Regions from separate parts of the Homo sapiens genome. Here all the other regions are linked to region 4. Evidence: promoter capture Hi-C in 16 types of primary human blood cells and fetal thymus (Javierre and others, 2016). All regions are on one chromosome and are shown on one strand. Each heading gives the region's core, a stretch centred on a gene start or on the middle of the fragment in contact. The rest is flanking DNA. Distances are from core to core; before and after follow the strand shown.

What was found. The method cuts DNA at HindIII sites, captures the fragments that hold promoters and counts their contacts. A CHiCAGO score of 5 or more calls a contact.
Region 1: a fragment that was not itself captured here is called in contact with the fragment with the promoter of DUSP19 in region 4 in 1 of 17 cell types (non-activated CD4 T cells); the score reaches 10.5 in non-activated CD4 T cells.
Region 2: a contact is called between a fragment that was not itself captured here and the fragment with the promoter of DUSP19 in region 4, in 1 of 17 cell types (total CD4 T cells). The highest score is 5.2, in total CD4 T cells.
Region 3: a fragment that was not itself captured here is called in contact with the fragment with the promoter of DUSP19 in region 4 in 8 of 17 cell types (naive CD8 T cells, non-activated CD4 T cells, total B cells and 5 more); the score reaches 10.2 in naive CD8 T cells.
Region 5: a contact is called between a fragment that was not itself captured here and the fragment with the promoter of DUSP19 in region 4, in 4 of 17 cell types (non-activated CD4 T cells, total CD4 T cells, activated CD4 T cells and 1 more). The highest score is 8.8, in non-activated CD4 T cells.

Annotation. Positions count from the first base shown.
Region 1 is chr2:186,591,863-186,595,182 of GRCh38, reverse strand. The region is part of intron 1 of ITGAV (integrin subunit alpha V); the gene reads right to left. Among named protein-coding and RNA genes, the nearest start is that of ITGAV, 3.5 kb to the right of the region's middle. RefSeq lists a silencer at 1. The HindIII fragment of the contact is 2,842 bases long and covers 537-3,320 here.
Region 2 is chr2:179,992,442-179,995,553 of GRCh38, reverse strand. CWC22 (CWC22 spliceosome associated protein) reads left to right here. Exons shown (of 20, transcript NM_020943.3): 2 at 2,100-2,239. The coding sequence starts at 2,213. Among named protein-coding and RNA genes, the nearest start is that of CWC22, 13 kb to the left of the region's middle. The HindIII fragment of the contact is 523 bases long and covers 1,557-2,079 here.
Region 3 is chr2:186,479,483-186,482,399 of GRCh38, reverse strand. The region is part of intron 1 of LOC105373785 (a long non-coding RNA gene); the gene reads left to right. Among named protein-coding and RNA genes, the nearest start is that of ZC3H15, 5.3 kb to the left of the region's middle. The HindIII fragment of the contact is 1,180 bases long and covers 862-2,041 here.
Region 4 is chr2:183,077,114-183,080,018 of GRCh38, reverse strand. DUSP19 (dual specificity phosphatase 19) reads right to left here and starts at 1,272. Exons shown (of 4, transcript NM_080876.4): 1 at 860-1,272. The coding sequence starts at 1,085. The HindIII fragment of the contact is 1,671 bases long and covers 618-2,288 here.
Region 5 is chr2:180,010,739-180,013,969 of GRCh38, reverse strand. No RefSeq gene overlaps it. Among named protein-coding and RNA genes, the nearest start is that of CWC22, 5.1 kb to the right of the region's middle. The HindIII fragment of the contact is 3,469 bases long and covers 1-3,009 here.

The DNA.
Region 1 (3,320 bases), core at 708-3,207, 3.5 Mb before region 4:
TTCTGAAAAACTATCATACATGTATATAGAAATAAATGTGTATGAAATAGTACTGAATGTTATTTCAAAGCTACAATTCCAGTTTCAGATTTACTTTTCATTTTTTAAAAAATGCTTTTTTGAATCAAAAGAAAAACAAAAATGCCAGTCAACAACTACTGTAAAACAGAAGCAGTAACTACAATTTCCACATATTTTCCCTTGTCTTTCATAATGCTCTATGAAACATCATATGTCCTTAATCAGAAGTAATATAGGATTTGCTTTCTAAATAACAAAATTATAGCCTAGTTTTATGTCCCCTAATATACATGTATATTATTTATGATGAGAAAAATCAGCCAATATAATCAGAGCTACTCTGAAGTTTATAAAAAATGAGCTGGCATCATTTTGTAAAGTGTTGTGAAAAGGGTTAAAATGGTAAGAGTAGAAATGGTACATGAAGTTTTAAAAATACACACAGGTTGGGACAGATTGCAAGTGACCTTAATCCATGTTAAGCGGTTTGGACTTTCTTGCTGGCAATGGAAGCTTTATTATGAAAATTTTTGCAACAGAATACCAGGATGAAAAAGGATGTTACAGAAAGATAAAATGAATAGAAACAGACAAGATGTTCTGCACGTTTAAGAGCCAAATGATGGGCAGAGGGATGGGGGAGGACCTGAGTGCCACTGACTATGCTTGTCATAACTACACTGAAATAAGGAGTAGAAAGCAGAGATGGAATCAAGAAAACCTTAAAAAGGAAGAATTTCTAGGAGCTTCTGCCTGTTGACTAATCACTGACTGATATTAAGGTGGTGAAGTAGGAGAAACACAGAAAAATAGAACATGAGAGGGAGGAATATGAAAGTATTTCCAAGGTGACAGAGAAAATGATGCCAGCATTAATAGAAACAGAGGTGCAACTAACATCTCTTGGTGAAGACTTTTTAGTCAAATTGAGTTAAGACAGGCTAGTCAACGAGAAATGATTCACAGGCCAGGCCACTGGAATATCAAGTCAGAGATCTACTTTTAGATTTAAGATACAGCCAGGGCAAGAGTTTTATTTAAAAGGCTTTCCAGATATTGCAAACATGAAGTTAGGACTGAGAACCATTGAAGGACCTTCTGCTTCTAAGGCATACACATCTACACATTGCCAACTGTAAGATAAGGCTCCATTAGCGTTTAATGGGGGGAAAGGCAAGAATCCAGTGTCATTCATTATAGCATTATTTTAAAATAAAGAAATACATAAAATGAGAACTGTATAACATATATTTGAAGAATGAATTTTAAAATTGTTCAGTTATTTTCTTTAAAAATTCAATATTTGAATTAATAAAAGTGGGATTTGAATTTTACACCCTGTCTTCGGATCCTTCCCTTCCTTACCCTCTACTCACACCAACCTACTCAAATAACTAGACTGCAAACGGTTCTGCCTCCATTTCCTCCTCATCTGTAAGAATGAGTATATCTGCTTCCCCTTACTTCCCCCCGGTGGTGTGGGCTATAGAATGAAATGAGATATAAGTGCTTAGCAAATTATAAAATATGTTTACCAAAATAAGATGTCATCATTATAATTAAACCTAGGATGTAATTTTTAATTTTTCCAATTAGTCTCCACAAGAAAAGTATGACTCTAATTATTAGCCTGCATACAATCTTTAAATTTTATGTAAGTTTTACAACATAGCATAAATAAATGCTTATAGAAAAAAAAACAGAATGCGAATGTTTTTTCATAATTTTGAAAATCACTATATTTGTGAATTTTTACTTCGAACCTGACTCATTTCTGGAGTGATTTTTTGAGGGGCCGCCTTAACATTTTGCTTAGTACTTTGTCCTTCCCTTTAATAAATATTGATTCATTAATTTTCACAACAAAACTATGAACTATGCAGATAATTCAATAATAATTTTCTATAAAGAGAAAAATTAGGCATAAAATAATTCTACAGCTTCCCCAAGGTATGTGGACACCAAAACTGGAAAAAGCAACAGGAGTGGACGTCACAACCACTGCTCCTCACAAATCCTTCTCCCCTCAGAAGAAAGGCGCTCTTGAATTGACAAATACTTTTTCATTATGTGGCTTTTTTTCTTTTAAAAGTTTATGGTAATACCAAATAACAATAAATCCAACTGGTAATATTGGAAATGGCATCCCAAGTACCTTGGATTCCAATGCTTGTTAAATTTAAAGTGCCCTTCTAGAAAATTCAGCAAAATTTTACATAAATTTTTGTTAAATCTGAAAAGCTCAGTAAGTAAAAACCTGTGTTTATATACGTTTTGTTTAAAAAGAAAAAAGAAAAAAATTCAAGGTTGGTTTCCATTTTTTAAGTTACCTATACCTAGAGCTCTGTAGTCTATCGGTAACAAAGTTGCTGATGAATATTTCAAAATATTATATGCAACCAAACCCAAGTTCAATTTTACTTTATCATTAAAGGTCTATGAGTGAAGTCATGTAAACCTGTGAGGTCATAACACATTCATTGATTATAATGACTGGCCAAAGATTAGTCACCCTGGTTTGTAATCAGCAGTAGCAAATATCATGAAGAGTTCAACATCACTGCATTTTTCATGGAAAAAAAAAAAACACTTAAAGTTTATCAGCCTCTCATTTATCTTACACTAAACTCAGAGCACTGCTGAAGAATTAACAGTAACATTGTAAAACACTGCCATCAACTTTATTTTGTTGTTGTTATTGTTTGTTGTTTTTGATTTTGTTTTTGTTTCTGAGACAGTCTCTCTCTATCGCCCAGGCCACAGTGTGGTGGCACAATCTCCATTCACTGCAACCTCAACTTTCCAAGCAATCCTCTCATCTCAGCCTCCCGCAGAGCGAGGATTACAGGTGTGCACCACCATGCCCGGTTAATTTTTGTATTTTTTTGTAGTGACAGGGTTTCACCATGTTGCCCAGGTTGGTCTCAAATTCCTGAGCTCAGACAATCTGCCCATCTTGGCCTCCCAAGGTGCTGGGATTACAGGTGTGAGCCACTGTGCCTGGCCTGAAGTATTTAAATGCTAATTTTTGACTGAAGACATATATTTTCAAAATCATTAGAATTTCTCTACAAATTATATCTCACATTGAACCCTTGGGAGCAACTAAAATGTTCTGTCTCATGAAGGTATACACTTGAAAGTATCTGGAAACAAAAATGTTTAAAGATAACGTTTGGTATTCACCCCTGTGGTTAAAAACAATAAATAAAAAGATAATGCTGACTAAAATGACTAAATGGAATGTGAAATTGGTAAATGTTGCCTAAATAATGATTATTTTTATCATGTTGGAAAAT
Region 2 (3,112 bases), core at 569-3,068, 3.1 Mb after region 4:
CATAAACTACCCAGTGGCCCTGGGAATCAAAACACCCTTATTATTTAAGTTCTTAGAGGAAAACAGTGTAATTCTCTCTAGTCTCGAACCTCTCTTTCGCCTTTGAAACATGTTTTTTATTTGACTTTTGATAACATAGGCTTATTAAGATGGTAACTCTTGCATGATATCAGAATAGACTGTTTAAGGTAGAGGGGCATGCCTCTCCTCTCTGCTACCATCACAGAGTCTGATTTTATGAAGTGTTTTACGTAACTTATTCTGGATTTTCTCAATTATTTATCTAAGGTATAGCATCGAGTAGGAAAAGTTACTCTGAAACTAAGTTCAAACAATGATGTCATAGTTGTGGGCATAATAAGGTCCTAGATAGACTAGTCTGTGGGCATCAGGATTTAGGACCCAGAGTAATCTTTTTTTGTTTGTTTGTTTGTTTGAGACGAAGTCTCACTCTGTTGCCCAGGCTGGAGTGCAGTGGCACGATCTCAGCTCACTGCAAGCTCCGCCTCCCAGGTTCACGCCATTCTCCCACCTCAGCCTCCGGAGTAGCTGGGACTACAGGCGCCCGCCACCACGCCTGGCTAATTTTTTGTAATTTTTCAGTAGAGACGGGGTTTCACTGTGTTTGCCAGGATGGTGTCAATCTCCTGACCTTGTGATCCACCCACCTCGGCCTCCCAAAGTGCTGATAAACTTTAAAAAGATACATAAAGAAAAGATTGGGGGACAACTTGCCAGCTGAAAACAAGGCTGAGCTTTCTAAACAACTGCAATAATAACTAATTGAAGAAAGAGCCTGTTAATAAGCGTATTATGTAAAGTTACACACATTTGTCTCTTTAACTGTAAGCCTCGTACATAAGCAGTGATGTGCTTTAGATTGTAGTTATATTTTATAGATTGATAAGTTTGCCTTTACTAACCTTGACACCATGCCAATCATTGTAATAGAAACATTTCTTGACTTAGTAATTCGTATACATCCCCATCTGCATTAAATGACAGCCGCTCTGTATCACTTTATAATGTCAAGACTATTTGTATGTGTGTGCCAGTGAAAGGAATACTTAACAGGGTGTCCTTATGGTAGGTTTCTAGTTGTAAGTCTAGCTGGCATTATAATTTAATTATTATAATTATAATTGAAATAGGATATCTGGCTTTCAGTGTTCTCTTTTAAAAGAAGGAATTGGACCAGATAATCTGTTATACCCTTTCTGACACTCAAATTAATTTTTTTTTCCAGTTGTATTCAGTTATTTTGCTACTAAGCACGTTGCTTTCTCTGCATTCTCTGTATCTTTTAATCCTTTTATTTTCTATTTTATTTTTGGGATTTCAGTGCCTTATACTATAAACCATTTAGATATGTACTTCCAATAAAATATTTGAATGCAAGTTCTTTGTGAACATAAGTATCAATTTAGCATCTTGCAGAAATTGCTAAAACTTACTTAGAGTATTAAAACACATCTGAAGATTTTAGATTTAATGCTGATGACTAGGTTTATTCTGAGCTAAATACTTAGTTCTCATATGTGCATATATCTGAAGCTTTGTGCCATTAATAGATCACATTGAGACATAATTATTGTAGTTTAGCACCTTAAATTTCTATGTGGATTAAATTTATTTCTTAATGATCATTATTGCAAGGATATTGGGTATTTCATTCTTAGTCTGTGTAGAAACATTGGATTTTTATACTCAGTTTATATAGAGTTTCTCTTCTATCGTTTCCTCAGGTTTTTTTTAATAATATCACACTACTATTTTATGATGTAGGTATGTATCTCCCTCACTATGAGAACATTTTTAATAAAGTTATAGGACATCCCTTTTTAAATTAACTTTTGTTCCGCTTGGTCCTTAGAATAAAACCTTCTATTTGCTCTCTTGTTCATGGATTTTTTTTCTACTTGTATGTGTTAGGTATACATTATTATGTGTAACTACTTAAGGATTTTTACAATTTTTATTATATTTGTTTATGGATTAAGAAAAATAAAGCGGTCAAATGTCCATTGTATAGAAAAAATATATCATCATTTTTCACACTTTGTTAGTGTTAATAAAGCTTTCTTTGGTATATTTTATAGGTGATGTTTGCAGACAGAAAAAGTAAACTGTCAAGGAATTCAGAGCATTGGGTACTTGTTATTTGGACCAGTTTGAAGCATCTTTGATTTATTGGACCAACTGGCAACAGAAAATGAAAAGTAGTGTGGCACAGATAAAAGTAAGTGTTTGAAACTTAAAATGGAGGATGTAAACTTATAGTCAATTACCTATTCTTTAAATATAAATGCATTTATGTAATTAGGACATCAGAGCCAGACAGTAGAATGGCACTTAGGTTGGTGCAAAAGTAATTGCAGTTTTTGCAATTTTAAAAACCACAATTACTGTTTGCACCAACCTAATACATCCATCTAACTTAAACAATTTTAAATGTAGATACTTAGCTATATGGAAGTATTAGTGTGCAAGAGGGCAGTTGAGAACATACAGAAGTGTGTGTACGTGTGTGTGCGCGTGTGTGTGTGTGTATACACATGGATGCATGCGTCAGGGGCCTGCATATATCATGTGAATGATCACATGTAAAAGAAAAACAAGTAACAAACAGTGCAGGGAAATTTCTGCATATCTGTTTACAACGTGAGCCTCTTGGATATTTCTTATGAATAGATGGATGGTCTCTTTATTCTGTGCTGTACTTTAGACAGTGTGCGTTCATTTATTTAACAAATGCATATTGAGTTCTAGTGATGGTTGTAAGAACTTTGAACAAAATAGTTTTATATGTGTTATATTGATTGTTAGATGTTATAGTGATTGTTCTAAGAACTTTGAACAAAATAGTGAATAAAACAAATCCTTATTTTCATGGAGTTTACATTATAGTTGTTGTGGGGAGGAGATAAAATAAATTATAAACTTGATAAGTTATGTAGTATGTTAGAATGTTAAGTAATAGAATTGTCCTATGGAGAAAAGAAGTAGAAAAGGGTAGGGGGATTCAACATTGAGGGGTTGCAGTTTTTAATAGAGGGATGAGTAGGGCCCATTGAAAAGATAGCCATTTGAGCAGAGACTTGAAAATGTAAGA
Region 3 (2,917 bases), core at 202-2,701, 3.4 Mb before region 4:
TGATTATTCCATAGCTACAATAGTTAATTTTCTTGTAATAAGCGTAAACATTTTTCATACATTTATATAGTCTTAGAAGACAAAATCAAAACCCTGTAAGGAATTTTTTTTTCTTCTCGGTAAGTTTGTAAACTGAGACATGATATTTTATTGTTTTCCCATAACGCATTGCATATTTTCTTAAATATAGGTGCTTAATAAATGTATATTTTAGTGGTTCTCAAATTATGCTCATATGAAAGAGTTCAGTAGGTTGGACTAAGATGATCTACTAAATTGAATGATGATGTATTTCTAATTAACAGAAAAATATTTTTTTTCAATTTTAAGCTTTTTTCCCTCATAGTCATTCTTAAAAAATTAGTAGATTGCTAGCATTTTTCACCTAGCAGATTAAAAAAAAAAAGAAACAGTAATGGATCAAATATTTCATGTGACTGGAAAACCTATATATTCAAAATAATGTGGGGACATTTATGTAAAATATGGTCTTATGTTACAGTCTTTTTGGTGAAATTAAATTTATTAATATATTTTAAATTTTTCCATATAACACCACAAGTTCCAGGTATTTGCTACCTGAAAACATTTCAGAACCACTGTTTTAATGGATTGAATACCATCTCACCTTATAGCTGGATTTAGTGTCATTTATCCTTGAATCCTAAAACCTTTGAAGTGGGAAAGTTGTTCCTAAAAGAACTATCAAATTAGATTCTTCTTATGAAAGCTAATTTTCCATTTCTCTTTTATGACACACTGTATAAAAGGTCATGTTTTATAGTCAAAATATGTGGGTTAAATTTCTTCCCTTCCACTTATATAGGTGACTTTAGGCAAATTGTTGGACACTGGTAAGCTTTACTCTTCTTATATATAAAAGAGGAATAATACTGTTCCTAGCTCATAGGGCTATTGGAAGGACGAAATGATATAATGCATGTCAGTCACTTATTAGAGTACTTGGCACATGTAAACACATAATTAGTGGATACTACTATATAATTCAGGTCATAGTGTAAAGAAGTAAGGAATTCAGCATTGATACATTAATTTCTAAATGAGCTTACTCCAGTAAATATGGAGAATATAAAATCAGGAGATTGGGTGACTGAATGTGGGAGCTGAGGGGAAGAAGTCAGAAAGTAGAAGAGGATCCAGGTGGCAAGCATGGGCAAGTGATCAATGTGGGTGCCAGGGAGGTTACATAGGCAATGATTGGAATGTGTGGCCAGGGCAAGAAATAACATATCCAGTTTTGGCTCTGCTGAATTTATGGTCCTAGTGCGTCATTTATGTGGCAAAATCCAATGGTATATATTTGACTTGTAAACTCAGAAGAGAGTTTAGAACATGGTGGCCAATGGGAATGGATTACTTTGAAAAAGATTGTAGAGAGCCAAAAAAGAATAAAAATGTGAGGAACAATGTTTAAAAGGTAAATACAGAAAAAGAAGTTTAGGGAGGAAAGTGAAAAGAGGCAACTGTGGCAGGGACCCTAGGGAGAAGAACTTTTTGGGTAGTAGAGTATCAACAGGGCCTGGTAATTTTGCCTTGAGTTGGCTTAAATACGGCTACTTACTCATTCCACATTAGGATGAATCATACTGGACATCCAATTTAAGACATGGCTATCTGAAACAAGTGTATATTTCCAACTCTATTGACCTATATTTCTTTTCTTACATATATGGATACTGCCATCTGCTGATAACTGGCATTTTTGAGGGGTCTTTTTTGTAATTATGACATTGTATTTAAGGTATCGTTTCCCTTGTTCCCTTTTTGGATATATTCTTCCCACAGGTCTCCACATGGCTGACTCATTTTCATCCTACAGATAGCAGCTCAGGTGGCAATTCTTCTAAACAGTTATCCCTGACCACTACATCTAAACAACTTCTACCCTCTGCTCCTAGTTAATATCTATGTCATCATGTGTTTCACTCCTTTAATTTTAGATTTATCTTAATTTGTAATTACTTTGTGTTTTTATGTCTTCATTTCTTACTTGGGTATCTCTTGTCCCAGAATATAAGCTTCATGGGAGCAGGAACCTTGGCTCCCATCAGGTGCCTAATGCAACCTGTCTCTTAGAAAGAGCTCAATAAATGTGCTTTTAAAAATGAGCGATGGTGGCCGGGTGCAGTGGCTCACGCCTGTAATCTCAGCACTTTGGGGGGCCAAATGTGAATCACTTGAGCCCAGGAGTTCGAGACTAGTTTGGCAACATGGCAATACCCCGTATCTACTAAAAACACAAAAATTAGCTGGGCGTGGTGGCACATGCCTGTAATCCCAGCTACTTGGAAGGCTGAGGCACGAGAGTAGCTTGAACCTAGGAGGGGGAGGTTGCAGTGAGCAGAGATTGTGCCACTGCACTCCAGCCTGCGCAAGGAGCGAGACTTGGTCTTGGAATAAAAAAAGATGATGAGCGAGAACTAGAGCTGGCTGAGAGTTCTTGCCCCATTTGTGCTATAAGAGTATATTTAGTTTTGGTATTTATCTTATCTTTTGAATATGAATTTAACAAAATCTTCTGTGCCAAGATGTTATGATCACCCTGATACATCTGGGGATTTTTCCAATAATAATGGTGATGTGCTATTTGTCCCTAAGTCCAAGATTACACAATAAAGGAACAAAATTAATAGATGGCACTTACAAGGATAAATGTCTTTAACTAGGTGTATGCATACATTTGTAGGTGCCTTTTCTTTTGAGTTCCCCTGATGATGCCTCAGCTGCTTGTCATGGAATGTGGGTTTGTAATAGTGGGGAATGGGAAATGGGCAATGTGGAAAGGAAAACGTTGCTAATATATTTACTTGTGCTCTGGACGCGAAATAGCACTTCGTCTTCTTCAATGATGCAGATTAACAACACAAAATGAGAAAAGATTTCAAAAATTCTGTGA
Region 4 (2,905 bases), core at 23-2,522:
TGATAATCCCTACTTCACAGGATTCCTCAAAGGAGTAAGACACTAGGTGAACAGCACCTGGGCTATTTCTCAGTCTTCTCTCTATTCAAGAATGCCTTAGCTGCATAGTGATAAGTCATTTAGTCTTTCCAAGTCTTAATTTCTCTATTCATAAATAGAAATAATTCAGACGTACTTGAAAACATTCTTGACTATTTTTTTAAGAACACCATACCATATTCTTGCCAAATTAACAAGTTTGCACTTTTATAACCTTGCTTCATTTGCTATTTGTGAACTATGCTTGTATAGGGGCTCAGTATTTCCATAATACGAAATAAATCATAAGATCTTAAGATCTCCTTCTCTTAAACACTCCAAAAACAGACACCATGAACAGACGTGGCCACAGGAGGCATGTATTCCGCACGGTCTGTAAGAGCTGCGCAGGCCAGCAAGCACAGGACTATTTCGAGTATTAACTTTTCTATAACTTTAACCATTGTCACTTGTAGTTCTGCCTGATACAAACATTCTTTTTTCATTCCTTTTTTTTCAAGCTGTATTTTTTATAAGCCAAGAAAACACAACATCAATGTGTTATTCTCCAGAGAAGTTAGAGAAACGGGAAGAAAGCTTTTCTAAAATTCAAATATGCAGTGCCAAGTGCTACGAGAATAGCATCTATGCTTCTTATGGGTACACTGTGAGGCAGAAACGGCTCTAGCTGGCTAATGGAAGTTCCATATCCAAAAAAGGAAACAGTTCAGCTTTTCGGCAGGATAGCTGATAATACAGACTATTACGCATAAAGGGGGAAAATGAGAACGTAATCTGGCTAAAAGGACTCAATGATCTAGTGGCAAGTCGATATACTCACCTAGGAGCAACCATGGCTTAATAACGCCAACTTGCAGGTCCGAGCTAAGGTCCTGCACATAACCACAACCACCCCCACTGCTCGGCTCTACTTCTTCCACAACATGAATTCTGGCATCTTTCCATGTTTCTATAATTTTCTTTCCAGTTAGCGTTGTCACCCTGGTGCATTGCTTCCTGAGATTATTCCGGGAGAATGCTTTAATTTCCTGGTTAAGGGAGTACATTACATGAGCAGTGGCTGGGAACAAATACAAACAAATCCAGCAGGCATAGAAAACGGCTGAACTGCTAGTCCCTTATTGCCCAGGTAACAAAGCCAGCCTCAGAGGTGCTCGCCCATCCAGGTAACCGCAGCAGCCACAGACCAAGAGACTGAGTCGTCCAGCTCCGTTTATCCCAGCGATGCAATGTAAGGCGAAATTTGATTGGTCATTGAGACACAAGTGCCGATTGGATGCTGTTTCTTCTTCCTGTCAGCCAGAAACCTGCATTTTCCCGAAAGGCTCGAGGGATCCACTGGGGAAGATTTCTTATTGTTGCTGTTTAAATTTAGCTTTCTAATACACGCAGAATGGTAAAATATAAGACTTCGTTGGAGAGAGGAATGATATGTCCTGGTTCTTTAAAGGCAGTGATTTTCTGATATATTCTGTTAGTGTCACTTACGGCAGTGACCATGGACGATCCGGGCTGACCTGTGTATCGCTCCCGCTTGAAAGAGACCGGCGGAGTCACCTTGCAAATCACCCTATGTCCCAAAGCCTTTCCTGCCTGTCTGCTTTTAGGCTAGTCCAGGAGGGCTAGAGCAGACGTTAAAAGTTATTTCTCGCTTCCTGTATCCTTCACACCTTCTGCTTTTGCTGTTAATGCAAGAGGAACGTTTACTAGATAAAGTTGTTGTGCGTATTTGTGAGGCAACAATTTAAATAAACTGGGAAAAAAGATATATTTTTTAAAATTTATGCTCATATATGTAGATTGACAAGAGCTTAAAATTTATTTATTTTCTGACTTTCAGCCTACATTTTCATTTCATACAGTAAATATACATCCTAAATAAGAATTGCAGCAAGTCCATCCATACGAAGAATTAAGAAAATCAATTGTGTAAGCATCCAAATTTGTAAAACAGATAAATAAATTATAGAACGATGATTCTGATTACCAAAAAAAAGTTTTGCAAAAGAAATCACAAGATTCCTTTAAAGAGAAATTTTTCAAACCCCTATTAAAGTAAATGTAATTTTAAATGAATTTCAACACAATGTATAAACACATATATAAAATGAAGAAGTTGCACTTATGAAAACTTTTCTTCCAATACCACATATTAAAATTTGTGTTGTTGTTGAAACTTTCTGACATAAAAAAATTCAACTGTTATGGATTGACTATTTCTGTCCCTTCAAAATGCATATGTTAAAGCTTTAAACCTCAAGGTGATGGTATTTAAATGGGACTTTTGGGATGTAATTTAGGATTAGACTAAGACCCTAGGGTAGGGTCCTCATGATGGGTTTAGTGGCTTCAGGAGAACTGAAAGAAATCTGCCTGCTCCCCTATATGGACCAAGGAAAGACAGTATGAGGACATAAGGAGAAGCTGGCTGTCTGCAAGCCAGGAAGAGAGCTTTCAGCAGGAACTGAATAGGCCAGCACCTTGATCTTGGACTTCTCAGCCTCCAGAACTGTAAGAAAATATATTTCGGTTGTTTAAGCAACAAAGTTTATGGCATTTTGTTAGAGCAGCCTGAGCAAACTGAGATATAAACCAAACTTCTCCCTCTTGAAAAAGGAATAGGCCCAGTACAGTGGCGCATGCCTGTAATTCCAGCACTTTGGGAGGCCAAAATGGGTGGATTGCTTGAGCCCAGGAGTTCGAGACCAGCCTGGGCAACATGATGAAACCCCAACTCCACTAAAAAATACAAAAAATTAGCCAGGTTTGGTGGCACGTGCCTGTAGTCTCAGCTACCTGGGAGGCTGAGGTGGGAGGATCACCTGAGCTAAGGAGGTTGAGGCTGCAGTGAGCCATGATCATGCCA
Region 5 (3,231 bases), core at 26-2,525, 3.1 Mb after region 4:
TTTCTAATACACTTTTGACACCCCTGTTTCTATCTCAGTATCTGCTTCTTAGAGGATCCAATTGATACAGTGATTCCAGGAATGATTCAAAAAAAAAAAAACAAGTGGTAAGTTGAGACTTTGACACTGGACCCCTCATTATCTGAATGACAAACAAGAGCCCACTGCAGGTGGCATATGGGGCACAGTTAGTCCCTGGCACAATATAGTAGCCCAGCTGCTAAAATACTTCACTGGTAAATAGTACTGGAACATAATACCAGATAAATAAGAATTTATTGACATTGGGGCACTCTCTTGGGATATAAGATTAAACTCGCTGGAAAGGATCTGAGGAGGTAGAGCAAATTTGCTGCTAGGGTACCTCTAGACACCTGGAGAAAGTGATGGCCCATGCTGAGGAAAACTGAAATGCCTAAATTGTCATTGCGGACAATGGAGGAAGGCAGTAAGAGGACCAGGAAAGCGGATATGCTGGAGTGGATGTGAGATCAGAAAGCCTACTAGAAAAAATTATTTTCCACAGGAGGCCATGAGGACACATCATTCCCCAAGGTCATCAGGAATTTGCTAGTAAGCGGGGCACCAACATCACCAAGACATCCAGCACTGGCTCTTCTCAACAGGTCAGTGCTGACTGTAGGAGAGGCTGTCATAGAACTTGGCTCCTTAGTAACAATGAGGATCATGGAGCCCAAGAGCAAGAGAGGTTGAAGTAAAACTTAATCCTCAATGCTGGGGGTGGGGTGGGTCACAATTATCATTGTGCCCAACAATGTCAGAGCAGCAGCTAAGAGAGAATTGTGAAGACAGTTAATAAAACATAGTGTCACTAGGAGCAAAATACATGGGCTTCCAATGAGGATGCTGCTTGATACATGCAATTAAAGGAAAGAATGGATGAACAGGGGGCTGAGGGTGGTCACACCAATAAAAAGTCACAATATCTTGCCCACTTCCTGGATCTGTGCCAGTTGTCAAGCTATCGAGACTTGTCTGGGTCTCAGGAAGAAATATCCTGTGATATCAAGTCAAGTATGACATGTAATGATTCCCCTAGTCCTTCCCCAAAGAGATCCATTTCTACATACTTGAATGACCGTACATTCGGAAAAGGAGTACCCACACTTCCTGAGAACTATTGCACACAGGATCAGAATTAACACTGATACCTAAAGATCTGAAGAAACATCATGACTCTCCTTTCGAAATGAAAGCATACGGAGGCCATGAGTCATGTCCATGAGTCTGTTCAGAGTCTGCTCACAATGAGTCCACTGGGTTCACAAATCAACCCAGTGGACATTTACTCCATCTTCAGGTGTTTAATTGGGACTGACATATTTCACAGTTGGAGCAACTTCCATGTATTGTTCTTGGCCTATGGAGTAAGAGCTATCATAGTGAGCAAAGCTAAAAAGAAGTCTTTAAAACTGCCTCTCTTGCCCAAGAGACAACATCTAAAACAATATAATGTGCCTAGAAAATGGTGCAGATTAATGATACCCATAAAATATACATAAAAAATAAAATACAAACAAAAAAATAAAAAAGATGCAGGGTTGATAGTTTCCATCATATCTCCATTTAATTCAACAGTCTGGCCTTAGCAGAAACTAGATGAACTATAATAGAAGAATGATTGTAGACTACCAAAAATTTAACAAAGTAGCAGCCCCGGTTGCGATTGACATGCCAAGCATAGTATCATTGATAAAGCAGGCTAATATGGCTCCAGGTATATGGTATGCAGCTATCGGTTTGGAGAATTCATTCTTTTCTATCCCAATCAAGCAAGACAATTTAAAATAGTTCATGTCCATATGAAATAAATAGTTCATGTCCATATGAAATATAATATCAATATACATTGAAACTTTTCCCCAGGACTATATTAAGTTTCCTACTCACACTTACAGTCCAAAGAGATAGGAATCATCTGGAAATCCTGTAGAATATTATATTGATTCATTACATCATGACATCATGCTGATCAAACACGTTTAGCGAGAGGTTATTAGCATGCTCAAGGTTTGTGCTCCAGAGAGTGAGAAATGAACCCTTGGAAGAATCATGGAGGGACCTGGTTCTTTATTAAAGACATTAAGGGCCCATTGTTCAGAGGAGTGCTAGGATATCCCCTCCAAAATACAAGACAAATGGCAGCATCTTACCTCCAATATGAAAAAGGAAAAAGCACAACGCCTAGGAGGCTGCTTTGGGTTCTGTAAGCCACATACTCTACACCTAGAAATATTTTTCTCATCCATAAACCAGGTGACATAAAAAGCTGACAATTTTGCAGCCTGGCACAGGAAAGGGTTCTACAGCAGGATTGAGCTGTAGTGAAAATAGCCTCGACAATGGGCTATATGATCTGGCAGATCCTATGATGTTAGAGGTGTCAGTGGTGGAAAAAGATGTAGTATGGAGTTTATAGAAATCTCAGTGGGAAAATCACAGTTCAGGTGCCTGGGGATCTAGATGAAGGCTGCAAGTCTTTCGAAAAATGGCCCTTCTAATGCTACTGGTAAAGAGGAAATGCTTACTGTGGGACACTAAGTGACACAAAACAAAATGTACCTTGACTCCAGCCTGGGCGATAGAGCGAGACTCCATCTAAAAAAAAAAAAATTGGCTTGTTGGACACACCAGGTTATAAGTTCTGGGAAGCTGAACTGTAATCCATCGTAAGATAAAAGAATTACATTTGGGATGAAGCACAAAGAAGATCACAATCAATCTATAGGATTAGACAGCATACACTCTTACATCACTGTTAGAGTTGCATCAATACTCCTTCAGCTCATATTGGTGACCATATGGAGCAGAGGTGTGGTCTTGATCAATAAGCTAAAGAAAGAAAAAAAATGGCTGAGCTTAGTTTACGAATGGGTTGCCCAAGTATGTGGATGAAAGCTGAAATTGGGCAGCAGCTTATATTACAATCTCATTAAAGAATAGCCTTGAAGACAGTGAAGAGAAACAGTCTTCCTAGTGGGCAAAGCTTTGGATGATGCACCTTGTCATCCACTTTCTGTAGAGGGAGAAGTTGCCCGGGGTTAGAATATAAATATACTTACAGGAAATGACAAACATCCTGGCTGGCTGGTCAGAGGCCTGAAAATAATGAGTTTAGAAGATCACAAATAAAGAATCCTGAGGGTCTTGGAGGAATGTGGATATACACATTGGTGTGAGCAAAAAGTGTGAAGATATTTTTATCACACA